Linked DNA regions of Homo sapiens: regions 1, 2 and 4 are each linked to region 3. Evidence: promoter capture Hi-C in human tissues and cell types (Jung and others, 2019). All regions are on one chromosome and are shown on one strand. Each heading gives the region's core, a stretch centred on a gene start or on the middle of the fragment in contact. The rest is flanking DNA. Distances are from core to core; before and after follow the strand shown.

Evidence for each region. The method cuts DNA at HindIII sites, captures the fragments that hold promoters and counts their contacts. A contact is called where the count stands out against the background at its distance.
Region 1: a contact is called between a fragment that was not itself captured here and the fragment with the promoter of OTUD7A in region 3, in 4 of the 25 tissues and cell types used here (H1 embryonic stem cells, IMR-90 fibroblasts, dorsolateral prefrontal cortex and 1 more).
Region 2: a fragment that was not itself captured here is called in contact with the fragment with the promoter of OTUD7A in region 3 in 2 of the 25 tissues and cell types used here (IMR-90 fibroblasts and dorsolateral prefrontal cortex).
Region 4: a contact is called between a fragment that was not itself captured here and the fragment with the promoter of OTUD7A in region 3, in 3 of the 25 tissues and cell types used here (IMR-90 fibroblasts, dorsolateral prefrontal cortex and lymphoblastoid cells).

What each region holds. Positions count from the first base shown.
Region 1 is chr15:31,569,037-31,572,093 of GRCh38, forward strand. OTUD7A (OTU deubiquitinase 7A) reads right to left here. Exons shown (of 13, transcript NM_001382637.1): 4 at 982-1,161. Among named protein-coding and RNA genes, the nearest start is that of KLF13, 240 kb to the left of the region's middle. The HindIII fragment of the contact is 6,458 bases long and covers 1-3,057 here.
Region 2 is chr15:31,585,215-31,588,142 of GRCh38, forward strand. All of the region lies in intron 3 of OTUD7A (OTU deubiquitinase 7A), which reads right to left. Among named protein-coding and RNA genes, the nearest start is that of KLF13, 260 kb to the left of the region's middle. The HindIII fragment of the contact is 6,043 bases long and covers 1-2,928 here.
Region 3 is chr15:31,868,903-31,872,109 of GRCh38, forward strand. It overlaps OTUD7A (OTU deubiquitinase 7A), which reads right to left and starts at 1,771. Exons shown (of 13, transcript NM_001382637.1): 1 at 1,605-1,771. RefSeq lists a silencer at 1,734-1,803. The HindIII fragment of the contact is 13,679 bases long and covers 1-3,207 here.
Region 4 is chr15:31,551,575-31,554,921 of GRCh38, forward strand. All of the region lies in intron 5 of OTUD7A (OTU deubiquitinase 7A), which reads right to left. Among named protein-coding and RNA genes, the nearest start is that of KLF13, 230 kb to the left of the region's middle. RefSeq lists an enhancer at 2,734-3,317. The HindIII fragment of the contact is 6,972 bases long and covers 1-3,347 here.

The DNA.
Region 1 (3,057 bases), core at 143-2,642, 300 kb before region 3:
GCACACCATACATTGTAATTTCCAGTGCTGGCAAGATTGAAGGGAAACACCCGGTTTCACACATGGTGAGTAGCAATATATTAGGAAAGAAGCCCTAAAATTATTAAGCTAGAAACACACATGTGTTGGCACAGCAAATCCATTCTGGGAATGCAAACCCATAGAAACAAAAGCACCAGTATGTAAGATTAGAGGTATAAAGATGTTTCTTTCAGCATTGCTTTCAGTGGCAATTAACAAATAATAACAACGACAAAAACCCAAGCAAAAACAGAATCACCATGAATACAGCAGTGATCTAAAAATTAACACATTATAGAATAAAATGTAGCTATTGAGAGATTATGTTCATCATCTCCTGCTCAGTGAAACAAGCACTTTGCAGTGTGCTGTGCATTTGACTCTGATGTGTTTGATTTTGAACAATATAGCAAGAGGAGCAGGAGGAGACCACCAGAATGTTATCAGCCGTCATTACACTGGTGAGATCTGGGAGGTGTGGAGGCGAATGCTCTTAAGTTTTCCTCATATATCTCTGTATTGTTTCCTTTGTTATAATAAGCATATCTTACTTTCATAATGAAGAAAAAGGATAGAGAAGATGGAGCGCATGGGACAAGAAATGTGATGCTGAACAGACTTGGAGACTGTGTTACTTTGGAAATATGTGAAAGAACTAGAGATGTTTGGTCTGAAAAAACCAAGACTCCAGGAGGAATGCTGGCTTTTACTCACTTATTGGGCTTTTGGGGTCCTAGGAAATCAGACTCATTTTTCTGCTTTTCTGAGGTAGAGGTTGGAACCATGGATAGAAGCAACAAAGGACATTTCGGCATAGTGTGAGAAAGAAGGCACTGAGAGGCCAATATGTCTGCATCCGGGAGGTGATGACCCCACCATTCTTTGTACCACGCAACCCGCCTGCAAGCTGCGGTGCACTGGCCTGGGCGGCTGTGCCTAGGCTCAGTCCCTCAGCGGTACCTTGGGCAATGTCGTCCTGCCTCTGCAGGCAGGGTCGCTCCACCTTGTGCCCGGGCTGTGGCTCTCGCTCTGGCTGCTTGGGACCCCGCCCTTCATTGAACACATGTGGCAGATTGGCTGTGTGCACCTGGCGGAGCTGCTCATAGTCGCTCAGAGCGGCTGTCAGGTCCCAGTTTTTGCCTGTGGACAAGAAATGACAAGAGGTGACAATACGAACGCATGAATAACGGTCTCATCATAGAGAAGAACTGTGACAAGAAGGGTTTCCCATTAGGACATAAACTAATGAATTTTTACCAGTAGTTCTTGTTTTTCAAAGGGGAAAAATGGCCCTCTGCATGACTCTAAAAGCAGAATTTCACACCCATAAGTGACGTCCATCTAAAATATGTGACTATATACAGTCTCAGAGCCTTTAGGTTCATACACACACACACACACACACACACACACACACACACACACACACATCTAAACACTGCATCCCTGATCATCACATCCCCCTTTGAAAATCAAGTTGTAGAGCTTACTCTCTGAGGGGAACAAAGCATCAATTAAAGAAAAATGAATTGAAATAATTCTCAAAGTTTCTTTGGGCTTTTGCTCAGAGTTTTACTTTTTATTTTAAGCTTAATATGAGCGAAGCAGAAGCTTGGGAGGGATTCTCTTGTTAGTGAGCTTTGGTGGGAGATAGGCTTCTGAGCTCAGGCCCTGCACCAGGTGTGATGCCAGGCTGGGCAGGTGTGCCCAGCGTGGGTACGCACTCAGCAGGGCTCCCACCCCGACACGGGGTGCTGGACTGGCACTTCGCAGCACTAGGCACAGCTACACTGGGGAGTTGGAGGCAGCGTGGGCACTCTGATTCCCGACTCTGAGAGTCAGTGGGCTTGTAACGGCAGGAAGGAGTATCACACACTACACCCGATTCAGTTAGGCATCATCCTATAGCACGATTGGGCAACTATAGTTAACAATAACTTAATGTATATTTCAAAATAACTAGAAATGTAGATTTGGAATGTTCCCAACACAAAAGAAATGATGCATGTTTGAGGTGATGGATATCCCAATTAGCCAGATTTGATCATTATACATTGTAGGCTGGTATCAAAATATCACATCTGCCCCATCAATATACATATTGATGTATGTATATATCAATACATACAACTATTATGTATCCATAACAATTAAAAATTAAAAAATTTTAAAAAGAAATCAAAGAATTAAAAACTTAGCCTTAATTTTAAGGAGCAAATAAAAATAAGCTCTCTTCTCATCTTTTCCATTTTAAGTTACTGGGAACCCCAACAGATGTCACATCAAGTAAGGATGAGAAGGAAAGGCGCAGAGGCCCATGGTGAAACCTGAGGCTGGAAGACTGGGGCAGCCACAGGCTACATGTCCCTGATGAAGGAATGCAACCCAGAAGAACAGTCAAGAACACAGGTTCTAGGGCCTGGTTTTGAGCCCTGGTTCCACCTTCTAACTAATTCTCTGATGGTGAATATATCATTTCATCACCCAAGGCCTTGCATTCCTTCCTGTACAATTAGGATAACACAATCCATCTAATGAGAATTCTTATGAGGGTTAAATGAGAAAAGGAGATAGTGTTTGTAAAGTTCTTCCTTTATGGAAAGCACTAATACATGGTAGTTACCATTATTCTCATTAATTATAGGTTTCTGTTTTATGTTTAACTTCCAGCACTCAGAGTTAAAAGCCAGCTAGTAAGCAACGGAGCTGAGATTCAAATACACGGACTTATCTATACTCCGTGAGTTTCTCATTCAACTGTTACTAATGCCATCTCCCAAACACACTGAGGCCATAAAGTCCATGGGAGGGCAGTAGAAGCCTAATTCTAACATGGATATTTTCACACTTCCTCTTCTGCACCCTGGGACACTCTATGGTCCCTTCACTGTTTCCTTTGCCTCTTCCTGCCCTTAAAACACATGGATTCCCCTAATTTTTCTTCTTGCTCTTCTTTTCTCTTAATTTATACCCTCCTTTGAAGATTAATTCCATCTCTATGAGAATAAGCTTAATTCTAGTTACAACTTACATCCT
Region 2 (2,928 bases), core at 223-2,722, 280 kb before region 3:
AACCTTTCCCCTCCCTTCATTCTCCTCTGCGTAATTTGGGAACAGCCTGGAATGGCACTTCCCAGAACTGCTTTCCAGACAAGCTCTAGGTTCTCAAATGACAAACATTCATGCGAGGCGTGGAAGGCAGCAGGAGAAGTCTTCGAATACTGAGGTTAGCTGCGAGCAGAAACAGACAGCTTCTGGCCCAGCTCTGGGGAATCTCATCCTCAGCAGCCCAGATGGTGACAGTGGCTCTGCCTGTGAGTCATGCTGCACCCAGGAGAATACCTACAGGTGAGCTGCTTCGGTGCTCTGGGGCAGTAGGCTGTGACAGCACAGTGCGTCCCCACCCGGCATCCCCAGGGTTGAGAGCTTGACCTTTGAGTTATGTGTTTCTATCTGCGGCTTCCCTGCCCTTCACTCCTCTACCCTTCCAGCTGGGGTGCAAGCCTCTAAGTGGTGGTCTGAAAATCCTTCTCACTTGCAACCTCCAGATTCTTATGTGCTCCAGAAAGAGCCCCGGCTGTATTCATATGTGTATACATATATGTGTATACATAAAGATGTATATGTACATAGGTGTCTACAGACCACTATTTGAGCTTGGAGAAAAATATGGAAGAACACATACTAGCTTGCTCACATGGGTTTCCGGGAGTTGTAATGACATCAATAGAGAGAGGAAGGAGGGATTGGGATGAGCCAAGCAACAAAGAAGACTTTTTCTAGAAACAAATGATATATATGTTATGATACCATTCATGCAAAATGACATATGCATGTGAATATAAATGTATACATTAAAATAGAAGAAAGGCAGGTAGGGTCAGGATGGTCCCTCAGCAGGAATTCTGAAGGTGAGGCTACGCTGGTTCACCCTATGGAGAAAGGCTCCTGCCAGTTACGATTACTATTAACCCTTCCTATTACTCTAGGAGTGAATCCATTTATCTGGTTTCTTTCCTCCAGGATAGAATGACCAAAGAAGGGAAATGCAGGCAGAACATAAAGACTCTGCAGACAGCGCAGATGTGGTGGGTGGGAGGCTTAGCCTCAGCTTTTATAGTCAATTTCTTTAAATGAATTTACCCTGAATTTAAATGAAAGTCTAAATTCCATACATACAGTGTGAATAGCTCACATACCTATCAATTTACAACATGGCTATGGTGTGTTAGATAGCAAGTCCTAGAAGGACTGAGGGTAGGGTTTTCTGCACAGCAGCCCCCCAGGGCTGTGGGTACCACAGGCATTCACTCAGGGGTGGGAGTCAGAAGAGCGGGGAGTGTCAGGGGCCAGATTTTGGCCACAGCCCTGCTGTGAGCTTGCCTTGTGACTTTGGGCAACTTCTGCCTCCTCTTTGAGTCCCAGTTTTGGCAATGTTAAGGAGAGATGGTTGAGATTCATCTCTAAGGGGCAGTGTAAGTCTGAAGAGTCTGAAAGTTAAAAACAACACGATTGGCCCACTCTCCTCATTTTCCTCTCATTCCCCGACTCCCACCACTCCCCTTACACCACCCATGTCCCTAGCACTGATGGCCTGCACTTTGCCAACCCCAGGAACACTGAGAGCTAGCCACTCCCTTAGCCATGTTCTTCTTGGCATCTGGGATGCCACATTCCCTTGGCTTGCCCCCTCTCCACTACTGCTCAGCTGGGTCTCCCCTGCTGGGTCCTCCTCCTCCTCCTGGCCTCTGCTTGCTGAAGGGCTCCAGCCCCAGGACCACTGCTCTTCTCCACCCACATTGCCCGCCAGGGCTGCTCGCTGTGAGTGCCATCTAAATACTGATGACTCCTGGAGTTTTGTCCTCAGGCTAACTCTTGACTCACACATCCAGCTCCTGACTCAACACCTCTGCTCGGCTATCTAAGAGCATCCCAAGCCTAACACAGCCTAAGCCAAAGATCCATGCATCATGCTTGACTCTGTTCTTACCCTCACACCCGACATCAGCAAGTCCTTGCAGCTTCACCTTAAAATATGCATTCTTGATCTAATCATAATCAAAATCTCTACCATTGCCACCCTAGGTTGGCTGCATCTCTTGCTTGGATTATTGCCAGAGGCTTCTGGTTCCTCTCCTTACTTCCACCCCAGTGTGCCCTGTCACCTGTTCTCCACAGGACAGCCAGAGTGGCCCTTTGAAAATGTAAATCTTGGCCGGGCGCGGTGGCTCACGCCTGTAATCCCAGCACTCTGGGAGGCTGAGGCAGGTGGATCACGAGGTCAGGAGTTCAAGACCAGCCTGGCCAAGATGGTGAAACCCCGTCTCTACTAAAAAAAAAATACAAAAATTAGCCAGGTGTGGTGGCAGGCGTCTGTAATCCCAGCTACTCGGGAGGCTGAGGCAGGAGAATTGCTTGAACCCAGGGGGAGAGGTTGCAGTGAGCTGAGATTGTGCCACTGCACTCCAGCCTGGGAAACAGACTGAGACTCCATTTCAAAAAAAAAAAAAAAGAAAATGTAAATCTTATCATGTTCCTCTCCTTTGAAACCCCAGGGACTTTCAATCACTTTCCAAATAACTTCGGAGTCTTCCCCATGGCCTCCAGGCCCTTGGCAATCTGGCCCCGGGCACCAAGTGACTTCGCCTGCTGTCCCTCTTTGGGCTCCAGCCACTCTGACCTGGGCCAGGGCTTTCTGCCATAGGGCCCTAACGCTCACTGTTCCTTCTGCTTGGATTATGCATTCTCAAAATATCTGCACTCTTTCTCCCTCACTTCATTGTGGTCTCTCCTGAGCTATCACCTCATCAGAAAGGCTCTCCCTGACCTTTTTATCTAAAATACCCTGTGTCCTGGCATCCAGCAATCCCACTTGTTGGTATAATCCCTACAGAAATGCCCGTACATCTGCCATATGCACATAGAGCCACTAAAGATGCATACAGCAGCCCTGTTCATAACAGCACAAAAGAGAAACAAGTCAAATGTTCATCAAAAGTA
Region 3 (3,207 bases), core at 521-3,020:
TCCCAACTTTTGAGTGGCATATGGTATTAAATTCCTTACAGATCCAATAAAATCACACTAACAATTTAAGGCATGCTTATTTTAACCAATTAGGAGGTGTCATTAATTATTAAATACAAAAATGTCAATACTTTTGTCCCTTATTGGATATCCTTTCGATATGATAGGCTTGAGTAGATACTCAGATTGCCTTGGGAACTTGCTTAGTTTTGTTCCCATAAGAATTGGTACTAATGGCACACTCACAATAAAATAATGGAGTGTTGATCCCATTTAGTGGGGAATGTTTATCCAGAACTGAGTGTGCCGTGCAGATCTACCTCTGTTCTCGTGAACCCTCTTTGGGTCTTGAAGAGGCCTTTGAAGCTGGTGGGACACACGGCTGCTGGGAGGACCCTAGTGAACCTGCCTCCCCGCCTTCGCCCAGGGCAGGCTTCTCCGGGCACACCCTGGAGGAGGAGGAGGAGGATGGTGAAGGACACCTGCAGATTTTCCTGAAGCAATTAAGACCTGTAAAGATTTAGGCCCCGCTGTCAACCTTTTCCTGGACACATTATCTGCCTCATCATATTTTTAAAAATTGTTCCTCTTACAGCCCACTTCCATTTACAAAGGTATCACCTGGCGGTAACCATGTGCATGTCATACATGACTTTCCCCTGGATCCTTGTGCTGTGGATGAAGCGTTTCCCTGATCGGGGTCTCACAAGTTTCCCTTCAGCTACTCTTAAATCTATACATTCTCAAGCCAATAGACAGAAATAAAAGTCATTTGCACTTGTGTGAGGTAGCTGAGTTTACAGAGCAGAGGCAAATCCATTTTATTACAGAGATTCTCAAAGGGCTGCAATAGCTTCACCGGGAGGGAGGAGGGTACACTTGAGCGGTTGTGTCCAATGAAGGAAAGTTTTAGTTAATGATGACATCACTGACATCTCCCAAATTTAAAGGAGCACTTAAAGCACCGCAGATGCAATTTTTTCCCCTCCAGTGAGGAGATACTAGGGAAGGCCTCTGGGTTCACAGCCAAATTGCCTTAATGGTTTGCCTGCTGTCCAGCGAGACCCAGCAGAGCGAGCGGGACGGCGGTGCGCCGGGCCGCGGGGACCCACGCAGTCACAGCTCCGGTGCCCGGCGAGCGGCCTCGCGCGCGGCTCGGGGCCGGGCCCTGCCCGGCCGTCTGCAAGAGCCGCGGGACCCCCGACGCGCGCGCACGGACCGAGGGGTCGGTCGCCCCACGCCTGGCATCACGTTCCAGTGCGGACAGCCAAAGGGCTGAGCGGAGGCAGCAGCCCCGACCCAGCGGTAGCGCCGCGCCCTGCCCGAGAGAGGCGCGCCACGCCGGGCCGGAGCCGGTGGCCCGGGAGCCCGCGGGGTCCGGAGCGGAGCCCGCAATGCAGACGCGCCGGCGAGCCCAGCCGGGGCCCGCGCCCCCCGCGTCCCCGCGCCCCGGCCCCGCGGTCGCCCGGCCTCAACGCCCACCTGCCTCGCCACGGAGCTCGGGAAGGAGACGGCGCCGGCCCCGCGCCCGGAGAGCGCACCTGCCTGGTCCGCGGGCCCGGCCCCGCCGCCCGCCGGCAGCACCGCGGCCAGCGCCGTCTTACCTGCCGCGCCGCGCCGCTCCGCTCCGCCAGCCCGCAGCGCCGCAGTCGCCGCTACCCGACTTCCATTTTCTCTCGCTTTAAAGGAAAACCAGATCAGCTGTTTTGCTCCCGCTCGGGCTCCGCGGCCCCCTCCCCAGCTGCCGCTCGCGGTCCCGGTGGCCTCTCCTCCCCCGCCTCCTCCCGCGCTCCGCTCCGCCCCTCGCGCCCCTCCGCTCCGCCCGCGGCCGCGCACAACGCCCGCCTCCCGGCTCCGCCTGCTGCCTCCGGGCGCGCGCCCTCCTCTGACGTCACCGGTCGCGTTCGCGCCCCGCCCCCGCCCCGCGCGGACGTGCGCGCGCCGCGCCTGTGCCCCGCCCCCGCCCCTCCGGGGCCGGGCACGGAGAGCGCGTGCTCGCGGCCGCGAGCCGAGGAGGGGACGTACAGCGCCCGCGCGCCCGCGAGCCCGCTCCGGCTCTCCCATGCTTGCCCCTCGGGGTGCTCCTTCTGCGCTCTCCGCCTGGACTGCAGGAAAAGGCTGCTTAAACAGCCTGCCTTTTCCTGCTGCCTGACTCGCGCCATCTGCGGCCACCTGTCTCGTTTCTTCCCCCTGGCTGGCGCACCCTTCCTTCCTAAACATCCCAAACTTTCTCCCACCCAGGCTGTCCAGGCTGCAGTTTCTACGCCCTGCGCTGGGGCCTGTGCATCACGCCTAATCCAAAGCTGGTCCTTTTACCTCCCAAAAAGGTTCTCTGACCTTTTCCCATTTTTTGCCTTCCTCTAAAGACTTTTTCACGCCACCCCTTCAGATGGTTCCCCTCCCTGATGGCAAGACCTGCTCGCTGCTCTGGGCCCTTCTCACGTCACCCTGTAGATGTAGTCACGCTTCCTTATCCCAAACAGGACGTTATATTGCAGATGACCCATACCATCCTGGTGTACTTCTAAACAATCATTATTTTACTTTTAGTTTAGGACTTTTTGCTTGACTTTAAACATTGTATATGTTTAATAGTGTTTAATAATTTATTTGACTTTTAAAATTGATATTCAGTAAAATTGGTTATTTGATATATAATCCTGTGATCTTGAACCCTTGTTTGGATTCATGTAACCACTAGCGCAATAAAGAGCTCCCTAGTTCTGCCCTTTTATAACAGCGCCCCCGCCAACCCTAACTTTTGGTAACCACTGATAGGTTCTCCATTGCTACGGTTTTGTCTTTGTGAGTGTGTCGTATACATGGAATTACGCAATATGTAACATTTTGAAACTGACTTTATTCCCTCATCATTATACCTTGGAGATTCATCCATGTTATTGTGTATAGTAATAGTCCTTTTTATTGTTGAGGGGAGTCTCATTATTTGTACCACATTTTGTTTAGTCACCCACTGGAGAATATTTGCGTGGTTTCCAGTTTTTGGCGACTGTGAATAAACATTCTATAAACATTTGCATGCAGCGTTTTGTACGGACAAATTTTTTAAATTAGTTGACTAAATATCTAGGAGTGCAATTGCTAGATCTTATGGTAAATTTGTTTAACTTTATAAGAACCAAACAGTTTTCTAGAGTGGCTATAGCATTTTTATAACTGTCAGCAAATATGAATCCCTTTCCTTCA
Region 4 (3,347 bases), core at 837-3,336, 320 kb before region 3:
AACTTCAGCTTTGGAGCAGGTGGTTACCACACACTTTAAAATAAGATGTCTTTTTGCTCATCACCCCACGACATTTTGATGAAAGAAAACAAAACGTGACAATTCTCTATCAGAAAGATGAGGGGATTCTTGCCCTAAATGTGACACTGTAACTCCTTTTAATATCACTGGAGTGCTCCCTCCCCACCTGGGCCCTCGGATGTCCCCTCTCTGGGCATCACTGTGCTTTGCACGTGCTTCTGTGAGAGCTCCTGCCATGGGACTGCGGTATTGCCTTCATGTCCTTTGCTCCTCTGGGGCAGGGGCCTTGTGTTCCTCATCTTGGTTGTCCCCAATAATCCTGGTAGTTGATATAGTTTGAGATGTTTGTCCCCTCCAAATCTATGTTGAAATGTGATCCCCAATGTTGAGGGGGGCCTGGTGGGAGGTGTTTGGGTCATGGGGGTGGATTCGTCATGAATGGCAGGGTGCCATCCTCGCAGTAATGAGTGAGTTCTTGTTCTATTGGTTCCCATGAGATGATTGTTAAAAAGAGTCTGGCACCTCCTCTCTTGCTCCCCTTCACATCATATGATACATCTGCTTCCCCTTCCCCTTCTGCCAGGACTGGAAGCTTCCTGAAGCCTTCACCAGAAGCAGATGCTGGCCCCATGCTTCTTGTACAGCCTGCAGAACTGTGAGCCAAATAAGCCTCTTTTCTTTATAAATTACCTGGTCTCAGGTATCCCTTTAAAGCAATGCAAATGGGCTATGACAATAGGATTTGAGACACCACAGGTGCTCAATGTTTACTAATGAATAATTGTAATGCTGGAGAAGATAACTTAGTATTTGGTCACAATTTAAATTCTTTATAGCAAAAAGTGTGAAGAAAGAAAAATAGGAAATACCACTCTATGAAAATAAAAAATTAGTAGAGGAGGCCATTTACTTGATGCTGAGTATGCATCCAGCCCTGTGCACACACGACCTCAGTTCATCTTCACAACAGCCCCACAAGGTGGGCTGCTTCATCACGACGTCACAGAGGAGAGCCTGACGCCCCCTCAGGGGGCTGCACAGGAACCACACTGTGACCACTACGCTGAGGAGATGTGAACCCTGGCCTCTGTCTCTCCCACACTCTGGCCCAGGCCCTATGCCCAGGGTTGCCCAACGCTGCACCTGGCCCACAAAGGAACGTGGTATTTCCAGGCTTGCCCAGAGTCGCAGCCGCGACTCTGCCTGACTGATGGGTGGAGGAAGCTCCAAAGCACAGCAAGGATGGGAAGGCAAACTTGGCAACTGGCCATGGGAGGAGCTGCCTTTGGAAGCAAGGAATGGTCCCAGGTAGCTAGGAGGCCAATGGAAGCCTCACGAGATGGAAGGCAAGGGAGTGTAAAAGTAGCTGGAGGAAAGAGATGACTCACAGCAGCCGATGGTGAGAGCTATAAGGAGAAGGGGAATGGAAGCCACTTCCTGACCTTTCTCTGTATCAAGCACAGTGCAGCATGGCTTCCCGAGAACCTTGCCCTCACAGTCAAACCCAGCGGTCAGTTTCTAGTGCACACTGACTTACTGGCATATTTGGCACCACTGATTGCTCCCTTCTTGAAACACCTTCCACCCTGGGCGTCAGGGTCACTATCCACCGCTGGTTCGCCCTGATTCCCAGGCCCGCACATTCCCAGTCTCTTCTGCTGGCTCCTTCTTCTGTTCCTCAGCCCTCAATACTGTAGGGCCCCAGCCTGAGTCTTTGGAAAGCTTGTTTTCTGTCCATGCTCCAGACAAGTGTGTCCAACTCATGCTCACCACTGCATGGAGCCAGGTTGGGGGCATGGTGGGAGGGTCCTACGAGGAGCTCACTCCGGGATCCCACGGGTTTCACTTTAGGGCACTAACTCCACATCTGCATCCCCAACGCAGGGCTCTCTCTGACTCCAGACCCTCATGTTCATCTGGGCAGCAACTTTACAAGTCTCACTACAGTCTCGGGCTTTGCCTGACAGTGCTGGCCTCTTCTTCTTGCCCTTCCTCCAGGGGTCTGCATCTCCTCAGGCAACATTATCTACCCCCATATTCAGGGTAACATTCTTAGGGCCATGCTGGACTCTTCCCTGCCTGCCAGAGCCCCAGCCCTCCATCATCAAGGCCTGTAGGTCTGCCTTCAAAACGTACCCCATAGCCGTGTCTCTCTACTGCCCCTCACCTGCACTACCACCCCCACGACCCTGCCAGCCGTCTCTCTCTGCCCTGGTCTGGAGCAACTGCCTCTCCCTGCTCTTCCAGCTTCTTCTCTTACCACCCCATAGTCCATTCTCCAGCAGCCAGAATCTGTCAGATGTGAATCAAGACGCGTCAGCCCCCGGCTCAAAACCCTCCAGGGGCTGCTTATCTACCTTCAGTGAAGCCTAAAGGACGAGGCTCCCTAGCGCCCGGCTCCCATTCTCCTGCCCTCCTTTCCAAATCCTCTCACCCTCGCTCCACCAGCTCAGGTGACACTGGCTTCCTTAAATATGCCAAGACTTTGATGTTAGACTCCCTCTGCCAGGAAAGCCAGGCCCGCAGGTGTCTGTTGCTGCCTCCCTCCCTGCCCTCCAGCGGCATCCCGGGATTCCCTCTCCTTCCTAACCTCCCCAGAGTAGCCTCTGAGGCCCCACTTCATTTTCATGCTCCCCTTGTTCATCGGCTTTCTTCCACTGGAATTTCACCTCCCTGAGGGCAGGGGTTTCATCTGCCTGGAGTGTGGAGGTAGCCCCAGACCTGGATGGGGCATTTCGTGGGCATTCAACACAGGCTGACACTGGGTCAATCTGTCTCCATTTGGCCGCCGTTACACATCTCTGACTTTCAGAGGGAAGGAAGTGAGGCTCCAGCCGGCCAAGTGACGTGGCCAAGCTCCCCCTGCCAATCCGGGCCTCAAGCCAGGGTCGGGCTGACTCAGAAGCCCACAAGCCTCCTCTGTAACTTACCATTCTCTGGCAGATTCCCCTCAATCCAATTATCCTCCCCTGGAGCACAACTCAAAGGTGTGCCTAGAGATTTTTCAACATGCGTTTCCATCTCCCATGTATGCAGTGACTCCTGCATTACACAAAAATGCCTCTGCCCTCTGCCCCCAGACACACTGAAGAACCACACCATCTCACCCACATGGTGGTTAGCTGCTGCCACAGGCAGCAGATGATACTTCCCAACCCAGAGACCCCGGTCTCCGAGCCATCTCCTGTGTAAATGCAGCAGGATCAGCTGATGGCAAAAGGAGTGGTTTCTTGCCTTCTCAATGGCAGGCTAGTCATTAAAGAACGAAAGGTGTTTCCCTTCCTCTCAGGAGGTCAGCTGGTTTTAGGCCCAGATGATCCGGCCCT